2 separate regions of the Homo sapiens genome follow, and region 1 is linked to region 2. Evidence: promoter capture Hi-C in 16 types of primary human blood cells and fetal thymus (Javierre and others, 2016). All regions are on one chromosome and are shown on one strand. The core of a region is centred on a gene start or on the middle of the fragment in contact, and the rest is flanking DNA. Distances in the headings are between cores, read along the strand shown. Region 1 has its middle 190 kb from the start of BMP7-AS1. Region 2 holds the start of TFAP2C (transcription factor AP-2 gamma).

The links. The method cuts DNA at HindIII sites, captures the fragments that hold promoters and counts their contacts. A CHiCAGO score of 5 or more calls a contact.
Region 1: a fragment that was not itself captured here is called in contact with the fragment with the promoter of TFAP2C in region 2 in 1 of 17 cell types (fetal thymus); the score reaches 5.0 in fetal thymus.

Annotation. Positions count from the first base shown.
Region 1 is chr20:57,020,838-57,023,770 of GRCh38, reverse strand. No RefSeq gene overlaps it. Among named protein-coding and RNA genes, the nearest start is that of BMP7-AS1, 190 kb to the left of the region's middle. The HindIII fragment of the contact is 1,672 bases long and covers 688-2,359 here.
Region 2 is chr20:56,627,973-56,630,754 of GRCh38, reverse strand. It overlaps TFAP2C (transcription factor AP-2 gamma), which reads right to left and starts at 1,449. Exons shown (of 7, transcript NM_003222.4): 1 at 1,163-1,449. The coding sequence starts at 1,210. RefSeq lists silencers at 1,128-1,422, 1,479-1,538. The HindIII fragment of the contact is 6,956 bases long and covers 1-2,782 here.

The sequences.
Region 1 (2,933 bases), core at 274-2,773, 390 kb before region 2:
GGCAGGGCTGCGGTCCCTCTGAAGGCTCCAGGGGAGAATCTGTTCCTGGCCTCCTCCAGCTCCCAGTAGCTCCTGGCATTCCTTGGCTTGTGGCCGCCTCATACCCATCTGTGCCTCAGCCTTCACATGGCCTTCTTTTCTCTGTCTCACTGTGTGTCCTTTTTGGTCTTATAGAAGATCACCCTCATTGGATTTAGAGACCACCCAAATCCAGTATAATCTCATGTTGATCTTTACCTTATCTACATCTGCAGCGATCCTATTTCCAAATCAGGCCATATTCTGAGGTTGCAGATGGACATGCATTTTGCAGGGAAACTGTTCAGCCCACTACACAAGTGGGCACTGGCTTTACCTTATCCCAGCTTCAAAGCCAGGGTCATTGTGAACAGACTTCTAAGAAATGTTCTCTACCCTCCCACAGCACCTAGTAGGAGGCACCCCATGGGAGTCCAGGAGAGGCCTGTCTGGTGATTCAGTGGTTTCCATGCCCCTCAGCTAAGTAGCTGATTATGTACAACAAGGATCTGCAAACTCTAGCCCCTGGGCCAGCAGCCTGTTTTTATAAATAAAGTTTTATTGGAACATAGACTCATCCATTCATTTCCATATTGTTTATAGTTGCATTCATCCTACAAAGGCAGCACGTGTTGACCGGCTGGAGTGAGACTCTATGGACCACAAGCTTAAAATGCCTGCTGCATGACCCATTACAGAACAGTTCCCCAACCCCTGATGTGGAAGAATGAAAAATTCTCTCAACCCAGCAGGTGTGTCAGAATTTTTCTAGGGTAGATAATTGGGAATTAGGAAAATACCCCAATAAATATTCAAGGATGAAGAGGCCAGTACCCAAAGAAAGTGTCAGAAAGACAAGACACTTGAATTGATTAGGCTTAGCTAGATTTAACTGTTTTAGAAACAAAGCTGGCGGGGAAGAGCCAGGAGAGGGAGACAGGGGACGAAGCTGGGGCTCCAACTGGTAGAAATGGCAAATAAATTTTTGGCAGAACACTCTTTCTTTTGAAGTCACCCATGTTGCAGCAGAGCGACCCTCTGTTTTTGCCTAAATTTTCAGCCATCAACTGTAAACAGCAGCAAACACAGAGGCCTTGTGGGAGCCTGAATTGGAAATCAAGGGAAGGGTCTGGGTTCCACAGCCAGATGCCGCCAGTTGAGGGCCAGCAAATATGGACAATAAGAGGCGCTTTAGTTGGACACCAGAGGGAGCCCAGCTAGAGGGGACCAGGAGAGAGAGAGGCACGCCCTTCCCCGTAACCCCAGCAAGACCTGGGAGACACACTCTGCATCTCAAAGGACGGATGGCTCCACCAACAGGTGGACGAGAATGACATTTACATGCCCTGAAGCTGGAGAGAAGGGAGAGTTGCAGCAGGTTCTCCAGCCCCTGGAGACTTTCCCATACTCTTGTGTGTGTCTCTGTCTCTGGATGTCCTTTTCCAGGACTCTTTCAAATGTCACCTCCTCTCACCTGCCCTCTATGTCCCTTCAGCCTTGGCCTCGTGGCTGTAAAGGGCTCTGGACCCAACTTCCCGGGCAGGTTGCCCCCTGGAAGAATTCGGCTCACCCAGGCTGAGATTCGGAAAAGGCTGAGCACATCCCGGCACACAGACCTCAGACATCTCACCCTGCGGTGGGCTCCGCTTCAGAGAAGGATGCAACTGTGAGGAGGGCATGAGACATGGAGGCAGAAGTCTCGAGTCGGAGTCCTGGCTGTGCCACTTGCAGGCTTGGTGACTTTGGGCAAGTCACTTCACCTGGCTGAGTTGTCACTTGCCCCTTGGTAAAGTGAGGCCATTGCCCCTGCTTTACATGGTTTGTGTGTGGATCCAATGAGACATGTGCAAACTGTAAAGCGCCAGCCCCACGGGGCTCTCATGAGAGTCGGGAGATGCTTGGGGCAGAGGGACTGGAGAGCTCAGGCCAGGCTGGGAGGCCTGGACCAGGGCAATGGTGACAAAAGCATCCCACGAGCCAGGACCACCCTCCATCTACCTAGTAGGTCTGCTCTGCCCACGCCCCTTGTCCCTCCATCTCACCCACCTAACCCAAGCAAGGAAGAAACAGCTAAGCTGACTTGGGATCTGATAGCCCCAATGTTAAAATCTCAGAAGGGAGTTTTTGTTTAGGGGGTGTTGAAAAAGTATACGCGACACTCTGACAGGGCAGGGAGGAAACACTAATAAAAAGCGCCCAGAAAGTCATGTTCTGCCCTGGGCTGACTTTCCAGCTGGTTCCTTCATTTCCAGTGCCATCTCTCCCGACCCTACTCTGTATTTTAGTATGCACGGAAGGGACATAAGTCATAAATGTCAAATGTCACCTTCTCAGAGAAGCTTTGCCAAACCCCCAAGTACAGGCCCCCCGCAGCATCTCTCAATTCCTCTGCTGGATTCCCCACAGCACTGCTCACAGGGGAGCACGCGGGTTTACCTGGACGGCACCTGTCTCCCCAGCCTGACAGGACTCCCCACAGGGGCCGAGGCTTGGTTTGCTTTCTATATTCCCGATGCCTGGCCCAGCGGTTGGCACACAGTAGGGCTCTGTGAATATTAGTTGAATCAATGAATGAATGAATGAATGATGGCAGCATCTGGGATAGGGATGCCACTGGCTCTGAAAATGACTGCATTTCTCAGCTGCTGAGTGCTGAGGACAGACCAGCTGCATTTTGTTTGTTGCCTTTCCGATTGTTTTTGAGGCTTTGCAGGAGGAAAATCTAATCCGTATACTTCTGACGCATTTATAGTTTTCTCCCTAAACCATGGTACTTGGGGAGCCATTTCAGGTCTCAAATGCCTGTTTTAAAAAATAGCTTCTTAAATGTGTTGTTTTCCTCTTCCTCTTCTGAGAGGCAAGAAGTTTGGCTTTACCAACAGCAAATGTGGGTGAGCCCCAAATGTCAGGTGGCT
Region 2 (2,782 bases), core at 200-2,699:
GCGGATAGAGTGCGCGGCGCGGGAAATGCGCACCTCCCCCGCCCCCGGGACCCTCCCTTCCACGCCCTCGGGACAAAGACCTCCGAGCGGGCGGCGCTCGGAAAGCAGGGCCCGCCACCCTGCGCCGCCCTGGGAAGTGAAGAGGGAGCGCGCGCACAGGGCGGCCCTCCCTGCTGGCCGGGCCCAGCCGAGGGGAGTAATAAGTGGGGGCGCCCTGCACTGCCAAGGGCAGTGTTCTCGCACGTCGGGGCGCAGAGGGGGCATGAAGAACCCTGGAAATTGGGCAGCCTTGCCCGCGCACGTTCCCTCGCCCCTGGGCGGCCCGACTCAGTTTCTAAAGGATGCGTCCCCATCTGCCCAGGGGTCTCGGGGCGCCGGGAACCTGGAGGAACATGGCGCTGTCGCCTCCTGGCGGAAGCGCCCGGGCCTGCGGGCAGGGGCAGCCCTCCAGGGCCCGGAGGCGCAGTGAACTCCCGCGAGTCCGTAGCCCGAGCTCCGCGCTCCCGGCGCCCCTGAGCTCGCCTAGCGCTGCCTGCGTCTTCTTCCTCTTCCCGCTCGCCGCCTCCTTCTTCCCTCCCACTCTCCGAAACTCTAGCTCAACCTGTCCGACAGGCTGGAGCACTCGCGAGCTCTTACGGCCCCATCTGGCCTCGGGCACCCCCACCACCACTCCCCAGCCCCCACTTCTTTTGAAAGCCAAACTTCGGTTGTTTTCGTGCTTCCCCGAGGAGGTAGCGGGGCAGGTGACAAGCCGGCCTTGGAGGAGTGTCCGCCAAGGTGTCGCTAGCAGGTAGCCTCATCTGACCCCTTTGGACAGAGACTTCGTGCGTAAAAGCCACGTCTGAGGGTTGCAGACGGGGCACTTTTCCGAGAAAACGGGAAGCAGGGCTGTTTGCCGCTTAGGAAAGCGCCCGGTAAGCTGTGTGGGTGGGATTTGCCATTCTCTTTCCAGGCCTCGTTCCCGAGGGGAGGCTATTTAGGAAAAGGCCCTATACAGGAAAGGGGCCCCGCAGAAATGGACTAAGGGGTGTCCGGAGAAGTGGATCCCGTCCCACCGAGAGGCCAGGGCTCCTATGCCCTCGTCCCCGACCTCGGTCCAGTGGCCCCTGCCTCCCGGACTGTCCTCGGCGGGGCGGGGCTGCACCCCGGAGCCCCAGCTCACCTCGCAGTCCTCTTCGTACTTGACATTATCGGTTATTTTCCACAACATGGCGTCCGGCGTCCCCCAAAACAGTCGCCAGTTAAATCCAGGATCCCCCCAGCCCCCAAGCGGTAAATCCAAAATCGGGGTCACGGTGACCAGGCGTCTGCCGCCGCCCCCGCCGCGCGCGGGCCTTGCTGTCCGGGTCACTGGACACGCATCGGCGGCTCTGCGAGCGTAGATGCTGCCGCCGCGAGTGTCAAGACCGCTCCGCGGACGGGGAAAGCCGCGCCCGAACAGTGTGTCCTGGCGATAGCCGGGGGACCCGAGCGCCTTAATGAGAAGGAAATTATCATAACTCCTCCCCGGGGGCCGGCGCGGAGGCCCAGGCGCCGGGCGGGGCGGCCCCCAGCCAGTCCCAGCCTAGCTCCGCCCCGCACCCGGGCCTGGCGCAGCGCCGAGCCCCACGCTGTGAGGGACGAAGCGCGGAGTCAGTGGGCGGTGCCTCGTTGACAGCCGAAGACCTGCGAGGCCTGGGTCCCCCGACGCGCCTTCCTTCTGTCACCTCCACCGTAAACACACCTGAGATTGGCAGAGCTGGGGGAAGGGATCCAAATACTGAAACCCACCCCTCTTTCGCCTAAACGGCCTTCACTCGTTCCTCCAAAAGACGGATGTCACCTGGAGTTAAGAAACTGCGCATTTGGGGAGCGACTCAACAACCGGGGTCTCCTCATCTCCTAAAAACACATCCCATCCCACCTACACCCCACTGAGGCTTAAGGTCTGAGCTGGGATCATGCAGCTGGAGCCCCAGTGCGCCAGAGACGCCCAGTTCCCTCCGTGGGCACAGCGCGGTCCCGGCCCCCGGGCGGGAGGAGAGAGGAAGGGACTCCTGGGGAGTCTGCCCCAAGGGCCGCAGAGGCAGCAGACGGTCCTACCCGCCCAGGAGTTGCGGACAGCGGCGTCTCGCCGCTGTCGCCCGAAGTGGCATCTCCCGCGGCTGGCTGAGGCCAGGGGGAACCCGCGCGCACTGGACCAGCCCAGCGGCCCGGCCCTGCCCTGCCCTGCGGAACGCCGGCTCTGCAGCTGCCTCTGGCGGGCCGGTCACTCAGAAGCCTCTACTCGCCCTGGGAAAGAAGCGCCGGGCAGGAATAAAACCCGAGCGCCACGGGTAAGGTGAGGGTGAGGAGGTGCAGGAAGTTGGGAGAGAGCCTGCAGAGAGCTCTCGACTGGAGAGGTAGACACCCAGGTCCCACATGTTTAGACAGAAAACGAAACTTCCTTCCACACAAACGCTGCTTCCCTCTCCCCTTCGGTACTTGCCACCCAAACTTGAAAGCAAAGTGCAATACTAATTTTTAAAATTTAAACTAACGAAATTCTTTGGCCCAGTTATTATGCAGCAATTGACTTTCATTGTAAGGGGAACATCGCTAATTCTCGAGGGCGTATTTGTTGGGACGCCCCAACTGGCTCCCTGGGCTGGATTTAAACATTCTGTGGGGATTAGAGGACAAGACTATTTCTATTTGATACTGAATACGATTTTGCAATAATCAATGCCTATCAGTACGGTGTCCGCACCTGCAGTAGACATGACTCTCCCATCCACGGAATGGCGGCATCCACTGCCTCGCT